Regions from separate parts of the Homo sapiens genome. Here regions 1 and 3 are each linked to region 2. The links are contacts of gene promoters, found by promoter capture Hi-C in human tissues and cell types (Jung and others, 2019). All regions are on one chromosome and are shown on one strand. The core of a region is centred on a gene start or on the middle of the fragment in contact, and the rest is flanking DNA. Distances in the headings are between cores, read along the strand shown.

Evidence for each region. The method cuts DNA at HindIII sites, captures the fragments that hold promoters and counts their contacts. A contact is called where the count stands out against the background at its distance.
Region 1: a fragment that was not itself captured here is called in contact with the fragment with the promoter of GLOD4 in region 2 in 5 of the 25 tissues and cell types used here (H1 embryonic stem cells, IMR-90 fibroblasts, lymphoblastoid cells and 2 more).
Region 3: a fragment that was not itself captured here is called in contact with the fragment with the promoter of GLOD4 in region 2 in 1 of the 25 tissues and cell types used here (mesendoderm cells).

Annotation. Positions count from the first base shown.
Region 1 is chr17:1,027,086-1,031,191 of GRCh38, forward strand. All of the region lies in intron 16 of ABR (ABR activator of RhoGEF and GTPase), which reads right to left. Among named protein-coding and RNA genes, the nearest start is that of MIR3183, 6.6 kb to the left of the region's middle. RefSeq lists an enhancer at 3,464-3,633. The HindIII fragment of the contact is 7,966 bases long and covers 1-4,106 here.
Region 2 is chr17:780,220-784,221 of GRCh38, forward strand. GLOD4 (glyoxalase domain containing 4) reads right to left here and starts at 2,061. Exons shown (of 9, transcript NM_016080.4): 1 at 1,947-2,061. The coding sequence starts at 2,036. MRM3 (mitochondrial rRNA methyltransferase 3) reads left to right here and starts at 2,134. Exons shown (of 4, transcript NM_018146.4): 1 at 2,134-2,473; 2 at 2,864-3,108. The coding sequence starts at 2,160. RefSeq lists enhancers at 992-1,091, 2,092-2,441, 2,113-2,661. The HindIII fragment of the contact is 5,823 bases long and covers 1-3,701 here.
Region 3 is chr17:936,392-940,622 of GRCh38, forward strand. The region is part of intron 1 of NXN (nucleoredoxin); the gene reads right to left. Among named protein-coding and RNA genes, the nearest start is that of NXN, 41 kb to the right of the region's middle. The HindIII fragment of the contact is 5,440 bases long and covers 1-4,231 here.

The DNA.
Region 1 (4,106 bases), core at 1,361-3,860, 250 kb after region 2:
GGGCTCCTTCCAAAATGTCTGGGGCCTCATTGCCTCTGGGTACTACAGCAACACTGGGCTCAGGCAGCTTTGGCCTTTGAGGAACCCCCTTGATTGGCAGGTTCTCCTCTCCCTGGTCCAGAGCCATCCAAAAGCTGGGGCACCGCGCCCAGCACCGCTGGCTGGCCAAGCCGTCTGTGGCCTGCAGGGAGGCCGGGGAGGACCAGCGCCCTTCTACCCTCCCTAGGTACCAAGAAGCGGCACCTTGCCAAGTTCACTCAGAGCAGGGTTCCCGCCTTGATGTCTGCAGCCCCCTCTGAAGTCGCACACAGTGTGTGCATGGGGTGGCTCTGTGTCTGAGTGGCCTCCAGAACCTTCATCAGATTCTCAGAGTCCAGGGTTCCCGCTCTGCGGACTCAAGCAAGCCTCTTGGGAGCTGGCCTGGCAGAGAGATCAGAGAGTACTCATGAGGCCCCAGCAGTGAGGTCTGCCCACTCGGCAGGTGGGTAAGTGCTGTGGAAAAGAGGGAGGGTCGCCCGACCCCACTGCCAACCTGTCAGCCAGCCTGGCCGCAGTCAGGACCCACACATAGGCCCAGGAAGAGGTGGGCTGGTGTAGGGGCCTCCAGCTCTCGGGGGAGGCAGCACTGTAGTCCCCTGTCTGTGGCTGAGGGGTCGCTATGGGGGTGTGTGTGAACAGAGAAGACGCACGATGAAGCTTTCTTCCCACCGGGAAACAAGGAAGGGCGGTGGGCAGCCGGGCCAGGCCAGACTTCTATTGCAGAAGGCTGCGAGATCTTTCCTGACGCCCAGACTGGATTATAAAATAAAGTAGACGAGCCCAAGACATATCTGTATCTTGTACCCAGCACCTGTGTACCCTCGATGGCCAAGTGAGTGGTAGAGTGAACCTCTGGGGTGTGCACGTGGTCTGCACACCTGGTACCATCAAGAAGGAATAAACGACAGGCTCTGTGAGGGGTGGGGTTGTCCTGCGGTGGCGATCAAGCTGACAAAGAAAGGGACCCTTTCCTCCCCCCACCCCAAGACCGAGTCTCGCTCTGTTGCCCAGGCTGGAGTGCAGTGGCATGATCTCGGCTCACTGCAACCTCCACCTCCCAGGTTCAAGCGATGCTCCTGCCTCAGCCTCCCTAGCAGCTGGGATTACAGGTGCCCGCCACCATGCCCGGCTATTTTTTTTTTTTTTGTATTTTTAGTAGACACGGGGTTTCACCATGTTGGCCAGGCTGGTCTCGAACGCCTGACCTCAGGTGATCCACCCGCCTCTGCCTCCCAAAGTGCTGGGATGACAGGCGTGAGCCACCACACTTGGCTAATTTTTGCATTGTTAGTTGAGACGGGGCTTCTCCATGTTGGCCAGGCTGGTCTTGGACTCCTGACATCAGGTGATCCAAGAAAGGGACCTTCTTCTAAGACCATCATGAGCCTGAAGCTTCCCCGAATGGCCCAAGAGGGGCTCTCCACCCCGCCCTTCCTCAGGTAACACCTCTGATCCTCTCTGAAGCAAAGGCAGCAGCTCCCATCACAGAACACGGGACTCACCGTGGGGGTCAGCAGTGCCGGTGTCCAGCTTAAGAGGAGCTCTTTGGAAGTAGGGGATTCTCAGACCCACATGGCTGTGCTTCAGGGCAGAGACAAGGTCACCTGAAGCTGCACTCAATCTCCTTACACCCTGCCGGCTCAGCCTGAGTCCCCACCGCCGGCCAGCATCTGGCCTGGTCTGGGTCAGGAGCGTCTTGGACTTGGTTGCTCTATAAGGGCCTCAACTTCCCCGACAGACAAATGCTTCTGGACCGGCCTCCCTTCAGGCCCTCTTAGCCTCCTCACGGCTCCCACAAGGGGATGCTGCGGGGGCAGGGTGGGGGGGTTCCTCCTTCAGCCCCTTCCCCTCCAAAGCTCAAGCGAGAATCTAGAATTCAGCCCCTTCCCATCCAAAGCTCAACCAAGAATCTAGAAGAGGGAAGGATGGGAGGGAGAGGAAGGCACCGGGCCTGGTCTACTTGAGTGTGATTTGAGGCAAAAAAAAAAAAAAACAAACAGGGAAAAGGAAAGAAAAGTAGAAACGCGAAGTTCAATACCGAGAGCCCTGGCTGAACCCACAAACCCAGATGCCACGTGTCTCCCAGCTAAACACTCGCACAAAAAGCTGACTGCCAAGTCAGGGGCTGGAATGAGGCTTTGGCCCCTGAACTCTCCTCCGGTGACAAGAACAGCCCAACCACAGGGACCCCCGCTGGTACCCAAAGGATCCTCCGTGAGTGTCCCTGCCTCCTCTCCCCCAGAAACCAGAGGCCCTGCACTATTTAAAGGCTCAGTTCTGATCATGAGACCTTTCCATCTGAACAGATTGTTTAATCCCAGCCCTGGATGAGTCACGCCCCGCCTCCAGCCTTTAATGAACCTTCAGGTCAGTGGAAGCAGGAGGGCCACCGGTGTTTCTCGCACCCACAGCATCACTCAGGGCAAAGTTAACGAGGAGTTAATGAGGCAATCCCTCCTGCCAGTCTGGGCAGTACCAGGCACCCTTCCCTTACCCCACCGAAACGAAACTGCCTAGTCCCAGCCCCTCGGCCCAACTGTGAAGCTCCTGCAGGAAAATGCCAGGTTAATGTGGCTGAGGATAGAAAGCAAGAGGCCTGGCCCTTTGACTCTGCTGCTCACCCGCTGGCCTGCGCACAGTGAGGTGGGAAGCACAGGGCAGACGTCCCTCCGTCCACCACAGCGCTGACCCGTGTCCACGACACGGACACACTGTGGCAGACGTCCCTCCGTCCACCACAGCGCTGACCCCTGCGTCCACGACACGGACACACTGTGGCAGACGTCCCTCCGTCCGCCACAGCGCTGACCCCTGCGTCCACGACACGGACACACTGTGGCACACAGCACACGTTAGGGGATGGAATCGCTCGTCACACAGAGCAGCCCAGGGCCGGGGCCACCCTGAGCTGCACTGACGCCAACTGCTCAGCAGCTCAATAGCCCGGCGTCTGCCTGGCCACCACCCCTGCCCAGAGATCCCCATCAGACACGGAGCCACCAGGCACTGCCAGAGGCAAACCCAGCTAAGGAATTCTTGAAGGGGCTTCTCAGTTCTGCCGGCCACAAATGCATAGGGAAAGAACTGAAAGTCTGGGACCTCAGGTTTAAAAGTTGCCCCCTGCCCACCAGGCACCTCCTCAAAGGGGCAGGTAAACTGGAAGCGCCCTGTTTGGCTGGCGCTGGACCCGGAACCTGCCAGGTCAGTTTCTTGCCAACCCTGACGTTTGGGGATGGATGGTGAGCTCTGGGCTGGTGCCTGCTGGCCTCAGCAGGGGCTGGGGAGGGGATGAGTCCACGCTGCCGGGCACAGACAGCTGCCTCAGCACAGAGGGGCTCTGGCAGCAGCTGGGGCCAGCAGGGCTCTGCTAGCCCAGTCCCCAGGGAGGCTGAAGGTGACACAGGGGCCAGTGCAGTACAGCTCAAGTTGCTGCCCTGCCCAGCACTTTCCAGGGCTGATGTCACCTCTGGGAGGTCAAGTATGCCCCATGGCAGGAGCTGAAACAAAACGAGGGGCCAGTGAGCCCAAGATCACTTCGTCCTGGCTGATGCCAGGAGCCTCAATGCCGGCTGGCAGTAAGAGCCTGCAGAGAGGTCCTGTGAGCCTCAGGAGGAGCTGCAGATCCCCACCACGGACTGGCCAAGGCCTCCCTTGTTGCTCTCTTGATGGATGGGCCCAGCCCTGGCCAGCCGGACTGGCACTCTGAGACAGCTAACTCGGACAGTTGATTTGATCTGCAGAGTTATCGAGCACTTCCTGTGCGCTGGGCGCTGGGTCTGGCTCTTCCTCACGTGCCTGATGCCAGGGCCCCAAGCCAGCCCCGAGGCAGCCTGCCCAGCTGCAGGACAGTCGGCTTCTATCTCAGATTTTAATCCCAACTCAGGTCTGGGGCTGCAGGGGCACCGGCGGTCTGCCCTGGCACATGGACGGAACGCCTGGTGCCCGGCGGGCACTGGGCCCACAGTCAGATGGGTGGTCCCTGAAGGGAAGCCTCGAGCCCCCAGACCCGGCAGCATCTCCCCTCCCCACAATCCTGCACAGAGAAACCTCACACGGCAGACGGTGCT
Region 2 (4,002 bases), core at 811-3,310:
AATAACACCAAAAAAGCACATGCCTAAAGCACAAAGCACTGATCCCATCACCACCCTGTTTAAGAACATAAGTGAGCTCCCATCTTACTGCAGCATAAAATCCAAATTCTTTAGCATAGCATTCAAGATACTATTAGAAGCAATGCCGACCTGTCCATCCTGATATCCCATCTCCTTAACTTCAACTAAGCAACCTCAACTAAAGGCACATAAAACCAGCGGCTTCGCAAACATGTGCCATCTCCGCACTGGCTCTTCAGTTTTACTATGTAGCTCCTCCTCTCATCTACCTGTGGATATCCTATCTTTAGACGTCAACTCGAATCCTGGCTAACACGGTGAAACCCCGTCTCTACTAAAAATATTTTTAAAAATTAGCCGGGTGTTGTGGTACGCGCCTGTGGTCCCAGCTACTCGGGAGGCTGAGGCAGGAGAATGGTGTGAACCCGGGAGGCTGAGCTTACAGTGAGCCGAGATCGCGCCACTGCACTCCAGCCTGGCGACAGAGCAAGACTCCACCTCAAAAAAAAAAAAAAAAAAAAAAGTCAACTCGAATACAAGGTCTACATGAATTATTTCCTCATCACCCAGGTTGGAAAACCGCTCCTTCTTTTGTATTTTTATAATAGTGGCTAACACTTATATAATCTACTATTACCGATATGTTAAATACTATACATATAATAAGGTGTTGAATCTTTTTTTTTTTTTTTTTTTTGAGACGGAGTTTTGCTTTCGTCATCCAGGCTGGAACACAATGGTGCGATCTCGGCTCACTGCAACCTCCGCCTCCCAGATACAGGCGATTCTCTTGCCTCAGCCTCCCGAGTAGCTGGGATTACAGGCGTGTGCCACCATGCCCGGCTAATTTTTGTATTTTTAGTAGAGACAGGGTTTCACCATGTTGGCCAGGCTGGTGTCCAACTCCTGACCTCCAGTGATCCACCCGCCTTGGCCTCCCAAAGTGCTGAGATTACAGGCGTGGGCCACCGCGCCGGCACGTGTTTAATCTTTGCAACAACCTTTTGATCGACGAGGAAATACTAACAAGGGACAGCTCTGTGGTTTCTGCTATCGAAAGTTTGGTGGTTTTTCACTATCAAATTCTGACTTCCATTACCATCATCTACGTACAAATCCAGTTCCAACTCCCACCCCAACCCAGGCCATGAGCTCTAATGGAGGATATATATCAGGGTCATTTGCACCTTTGTTGCCAAAACTCAACGTAGTACCCTGAAAATAGCAGATATTTTAAAAATGACCTGACGAATTCAGATCCCCGTCTATTGCACCGTCTATACACTAAACCGCGCTCTTGCACCTTTCAAGTCTTCCTTAGTGGTGTGTTCCCTACCTCCCTGGCTTATCAAAGGAGGTCCCCAAAACCCAGTTCCCCAACCAACTGAATCCTGCAAATAACAGCTCCTCAGGACCCGAGACAGACCGCTTCTGGGTGCTGTTGAAAAGCAGATGGGTTGAGAGTTGGAGCATATATTCAGAGACTGAGTATCCGAAACGGACTATTCAGACCAGCCTTGCTAGAAGCAGAACTCTGAATACGCTGATTTTATCTACATCAAAGGCTCCAAACCGGAAAACACAAATATTAACTAGAAAGCATTATATAACATTTTATTTACCGTCTTTTCCGGTAGACGGTAAGCTCCACAAGGGCGGGGCTCAATAAACGTTTACGAGTGGCTTAAATGAAAGGACGTGCGTGGGCACACCGCGGGGACTAATCGTGTTAGGCCCTTCTCCAAGGCCTATGATCCCCAACGGCAACTCGCCACGCTCCTGAAGCTGAACACCGCGCAGGGCCTAAGGTCGGACACCCTCCGGCTTAGGTTCACGACACACCCATTTTCCCCTCCCTCCGCCAGGGCCGGCTCGGGCGCCGGTTCCAGCCTCGCGCGCCAGCCCCTGTCGGCCCCGGCCTGCACCTTCATCCCCAGGACGTCCCGATAGAAACGCGCCGTCTGGAAGCGGTTTCCCACTTTGAATACGAAGTGCAGAGCTCTGCGAGCAGCCATGATTCCCGCCGCACGCAGCCGTCACGCGCACCGTACAGCCCAGTCCACGAAGGGCGCCACGGGCCGTGACGTCACTAGCCGCCGACGGCGCGCTTTCGTGACGCAGCCCGGGTCTCAGGGAACATGGCGGCGCTGGTGAGACCCGCGAGGTTTGTCGTGCGACCGTTGCTGCAGGTGGTCCAGGCTTGGGACCTTGACGCGAGGCGCTGGGTCCGGGCGCTGCGGCGGAGCCCAGTGAAAGTGGTGTTTCCTTCCGGAGAGGTGGTGGAACAGAAGCGCGCTCCTGGGAAGCAGCCCCGCAAGGCACCATCTGAGGCCAGTGCCCAGGAGCAACGAGAGAAACAACCGCTCGAGGAGTCCGCATCCCGCGCTCCCAGCACCTGGGAAGAGTCTGGGCTTCGCTACGATAAAGCTTATCCCGGGGACAGGAGGCTGAGGTGATGTGGTTCTTGAGCCTGTCGAATGTTCTCGTTTCCCTTCCCGTCGCACAGCGGAACCTTAACCTCCTTCCGATGGAGGACTTCTTCCAGTACAGCCCGCTGGTTTTTGTATTATGCACAGAGGGCCGAATAAGCGTCTTTGGAATTAGCTTCTGTTTCTCCTTAGCTCTTTGTTGTTGTTTTTGTTTCACCATGTTAGCCAGGCTGATCTGGAACTCCTGACCTCAGGTGATCCGCCCGCCTCGGCCTCCCAATGTGCTGGGATTACAGGCGTGAGCCACCGCGCCCGGCCCTCTCCGTAGCTCTTTATTTCTGTTACAACTAAGCGTGTCTCAGTAACAAGGATGTTGATAGTTACCTGTTTTTTTTTTTTATTTCCATCTACAGCAGTGTAATGACAATAGTAAAGTCCAGGCCATTTCGGGAAAAACAAGGGAAGATCCTGCTGGAAGGTCGCAGGCTCATTTCAGACGCTCTCAAGGCTGGAGCTGTGCCAAAAATGTTCTTCTTTAGCCGTCTAGAATACCTAAAGGAGTTGCCAGTCGATAAGCTGAAAGGTGTCAGCCTCATTAAGGTGAAATTTGAGGATATCAAGGATTGGTCCGACCTCGTAACGCCACAAGGAATAATGGGTTAGTGATTACCCAGTGTATCTTTTTTTTTTTTTGTCTTGTTCTGTCACCCAGGCTGGAGTGCAATGGCGCGATCTCGGCCCACTGCAACCTCCGCCTCTCGGGTTCAAGGGATTCTCTTGCCTCAGCCTCCGCAGTAGCTGGGATTACAGGCGTCTGCCACCATGCCCGGGTGATTTTTGTATTTTTAGTAGAGGTGGGGTTTCACCATGTTGGCCAGGCTGACGTCGAACTTGTGACCTCAGGTGATCCTCCTGCCTCGGCCTCCCAAAGTGCTGGGATTACAGGCGTGAGCCACCATGCCTGGCCTTACACAGTGTATCTTAAGGTGTGGAGACCTAGGATTAATTTCTCATACTTGTCTTAGGACAGCAGCATTGAAATGAAATTCAAAATGTTACAATTAGAAAAATATAATTCTCAAACCTGTGTATCTTAGAGTATTTTCAATGGAAATTGAAACCCGTTTTTCACTATCATTTGTGTTGTGGCTCTTTATGGTCTCTAGGAAGAACCACTATTCCTCAAACCTTCTATTTTTTAGATTACTTCTTCAACTTTCTATGTCAGATTAAAAATTAAGAAAGCGTTTACTGAAAGATTGAGCCCTTCATTTTTGCAAAACCTCTGCCAATGTGGTGATAACTGTCAATAAACTGCTTATTCCAGAAGCAGATCTAAGAAGCGAGGTACAAGCCACAATTTACTGCCCCGTTTAGCCCAATAAACAGAGAACCTTGTCTTCTAGTCTGTTCCTTCATTTGGCTGAATCTGACTTAACCTTATGTAACTCCGATGTTGATTAGCAGTTACAAAGTCTTTGGTCTAAATATGAGAAGATAAGTTTTTCATACGTTTTTGACATGGGAGTTTTAAGATATGAAAACTGAATCC
Region 3 (4,231 bases), core at 888-3,387, 160 kb after region 2:
AGGTGGTGAGTGTGCACCACACACAACCCGGCCAGCATCTGCCCAGGTCAAGCCCATCCTGTCAGTGCACACGCCGCGTGCTGCCACCACCCAGCTCGATGATTCTCTCCTTCCACACCTTCCGGTCCCCAAAAGTGACTGAAAGCAGGATTCTGCTGCGGAAAAACTGGACTTGGAGGAAGGGCAGGAGAGAAGGGCGAGGTGTGTCGGCCTGCCTCAGGTCTGGGGTGCCCAATTCTGGTTGTGCAAACAGTGAGGGAAAAAAAGGGTGCTACGATGTCTGGCTAAAACGGGGCATCAGAGCTGTCGGCGGTACCAGTTTTCAGAATCCATGGATTTATAACGGATTTCTTTTCTAACTTGCAAACGCATACGAGATACTTCACAGAGGTATTACAGTTAAGTCACACTTCCCCACATAAGCTCACCTTTAATGAAAAAGTTAAAATGACATAAAACTGGGAGTGTTCCAGAAAAGGCAGGCCTGTGTTCACCATCACAACACCTATGGATAGAAAAGAGGCAGAAAGGCCGGGTACGGTGGCTCACGCCTGTAATCCCAGCACTTTGGGAGGCTGAGGTGGGAGGATCAGCTTGACCCCAGGAGGCCGAGATTGCACAACCGCATTCCAGCCTGAGTGACACAGTGAGACTCTGCAGCCTTTACTGCAGCCTTTGCCTCCCGGGCTCAAGTGATCCTCCCACCTCGGTGTCCTGAGTGGCTGGGATTACAGGCACCCAGCACCACGCCCGGCTGATTTTTTGTATTTTTTGTAGAGATGGGGTTTCATCATGTTGGCCGGGCTGGTCTCAAACTACTGAGCTCGGGTGATCCGCCCGCCTCGGCCTCCCAAGGTGCTGGGTGCATTTTTTCTTAAGGAAGAAAAAGGAGGGCAGGGGGCAAGGTGCAGGGCAAAAAAGAAGAGCCCAGGAGTCCAAGAGGGAAGCGGCCAGAGGAAACGGAAGGAATCAGCTTCCAACAGGGACCCACAAGGCTGCTTGAGAACTCAGGACACAAGGAACACACCTGGAGAAGGGGGCTCTGCGGTGATCCGTACACAGTGAGAACCAAAGGGGCAGCTTCAGGGAAAACAGGTGGGGAGGGACAAAAGGAGGGAAAAGCCAAAACTCTCCGTCATCGAGAGGAACGCACACTTCTCCGAGGCTATTGCCGGTTCAAGCTCGTTTCCTTCAGAACACACCCCCAAAGTTCCTGGGGTCCCCCCACCGCCCTCCCCAACACACACACTCACTCCAATTTCACTCTTTTCTGCACAGATTCCAGGGAAGTATCCTGGAGACAGACATCAAAGGCATCCGAGCTGGCAGCCCACAACAGGTCACGCTGTCACGGGGACGCCGGGAACCACATGAAAAGCAGAGAATTCACGGGGCGTTCGATGATGATGATTATTTTTTAAGGAGCTCAGAAATGTCTTTCGTTTCAGTTTTAGTTTAAGGACAGCTACCTCTGGGGGAATGGCTTTGAAGTCACATAGCCCAGAGCAGCGCTCAGCAGCCACGAGGGAAGAAAAACGCTGCGCCCAGCGGAAAGGCCACAGGAGCCACGGGGCGCAGGGGCCGTCGCTGAAGAAGAACCCAGAAGGCTTCTGCTTTTGGTACAAGGACAGGAAGGAAGAGGAATGGCTGCAGCTGGGACCACATTTGAAAACCCACCAAGGCCAACCTTGCAATGGCCTTCTGCGTAGCAGCAAATACACAGAGGTTAAGGGGCAGAGGCCCCAGGAGAACCCTGTGAATATGCCTATTCGGAGGGGTCAGGGTCAGAGGACAAAAGAGGCCGGAGAGGAACAAGCTTTCCACTTGGGCGGTTTTACTGCTCCAGAAAGCAGTTTTTGAAAAGCACGAGATGATGGGAAGGCCCAGGTCGGCGGTTAGATCTAGAGCAGGCGGCAAGAGCTTGCCCTGATATGACAGCAAGTGAGCTGGCCACAAACACAGCTCACAGCTAGTGCGAAGGCCGAGCCAAAGAAAAGGTCCCCAGCCCGGCCGGGCGCGGCGGCTCACGCCTGTAATCCCAACACTTTGGGAGGCTGAGGCAGGCGGATCACGAGGTCAGGAGTTCGAGATCAGCCCAGCCAACATGGCGAAACCCCCGTCTCTACTAAAAAAATACAAAACTTAGCCGGGCTTAGTGACGAGCCCCTGTAGTCCCAGCTACTTGGGAGGCGGAGGCAGGAGAATCACTTGAACCTGGGGAGGCGGAGGTCGCAGTGAGCCGAGATTGCGCCACTGCACTCCAGCCTGGGTGACAGAGTGAGACACTGTCTCAAAAAACAAAACAAAAAACAAAAACAAAAAGAAAGAAAACAGGCAAAATCAAAAGAAAAATGATGAAAAAGAAGATAAAATTAAGAACAGAACAGGCTGGGCGCGGTGGCTCATGCCTGTAATCCCAGCACTTTGGTAGGCCGAGGCGGGCGGATCACTTGAGGCCAGGGGTTCAAGACCAGCCTGGCCAACATGGCAAAACCCCGTCTCTACTAAAAATTAGCTGGGTGTGGTGGCGGGCTCCTGTAATCCCAGCTACACGGGACGCTGAGGCAGGAGAATTGCTTGAGCCTGGGAGGCAGAGACTGCAGTGAGCCAAGATCTCACCGCTGCACTCCAGCCTGGGCGACAAGGGTGAGACTCCCTCTCAAAAAAAAAAGAAAGAAAGAAAAGAACAAATGAAAGGAAAATGAGAGCTAAAAATATAACAGAATCTTTGACCTAGCAATTCCTCTTCTAGGAATTTATCCTTAGAGAACCACCAAAGATGTGCACAGAGAAGAATATAAAAACAAGTTTATAACAGCGCTGGTTATTCCAGCAAAATCTGGAACTGGCCTACATTTCCTATCATAGGAAACTGGAAACTATTAAATATGGTACATATATACACATAGACAGATAGATACAGCAAAATACCACGTAACTATTAGAAATCAGCTTTTTTTTTTTTTTTTTGAGACAAGAGTTTCACTCTTGTCACCCAGGCTGGAGTGCAGTGGCACCATCTTGGCTCACTGCAATCTCTGCCTCGCAGGTTCAAGTGATTCTCCTGCCTTATCCTCCCCAGTAGCAGGGATTACAGGTGCCCGCCACCACGCCTAATTAATTCCTATATTTTTAGTAGAGATGGGGTTTCACCATGTTGGCCAGGCTGGTCTCAAACTCCTGACCTCAGGTGATCCTCCCACCTTGGCCTCCCAAAGTGCTGGGATTACAGGCGTGAGCCACCGCGCCTGGCCAGAGATCATCTTTTTAAAGAATACGTTCTTACATGAAAATACACTCAAAATACATCCTAATTGTGTAAGACACACACGTACGTGCCTACATAGGAAAAGACAAGGCTGCCTTGTGATGTCGGAACATCCATGCTTCTAGCTAGGGGGTCTGCAGGAGACTGATCCCCCACATGCTTTTTTTGTATTCGATGATCCATTATTACTTTTTAAAAAATATAATTTGCAGGCATGAGCAACACTGTGGCGGGCCCTGCAGTGGGGCAGGGAGAGTGCAGTCAACTCCCGCTTCCAGTATTACCTTTTTTTTCTTATTTTTTTTTTGCTGTCATCCAGGCTGGAGTGCAGTGGTGTGATCATGGCTCACTGTAGCCTCAAACTGCCGGGATCAAGTGATCCTCCCACCTCAGCCTCCTGAGTAGCCGGGACCACAGGCACAGGCCACCACGCCAGCTAACTAATTTTTGTATTTTTTTGGTAGAGATCGAGGTGGGGGGGTCTCAGTATGTTCCCCAGGCTGGCCTCAGGTGATCCTCCCACTTCTGCCTCCCAAAGTGCTGGAATTACAGGCATGAGCCACTGTGCCTGGCCTCAATTTTTTTTTTTTTTTGGTCTCTTTCTCCCCCTTTTTGTGGATTATAGGGTTTCGCTATGTTGCCTAGGCAGGTCTCAAACTCCTGGGCTCAAGCTATCTTCCCATCTCTGTCTCCTTAAGCGCTGGGATTACAGGCGTGAGCCATTGCACCTGGCCTCAATATTACTTTTAAAAGAGGAAACTATCCCAATAGATGTTTTGGTAAAAAGAAGGAAAAAGGGCCGTGGGCAACTTCCAAACGCAATGTCTCTGTTAAAAATCAATTCCACTGAGGTCAAAAGCCCCTAACGAAGACATCACCCAGACCCTTTCACCACTCAGAACCAGGTACGGACGGCATGCCTCATCTCACAACAGCCCAGCGGGCTTTGCAGGACCCTTAAAA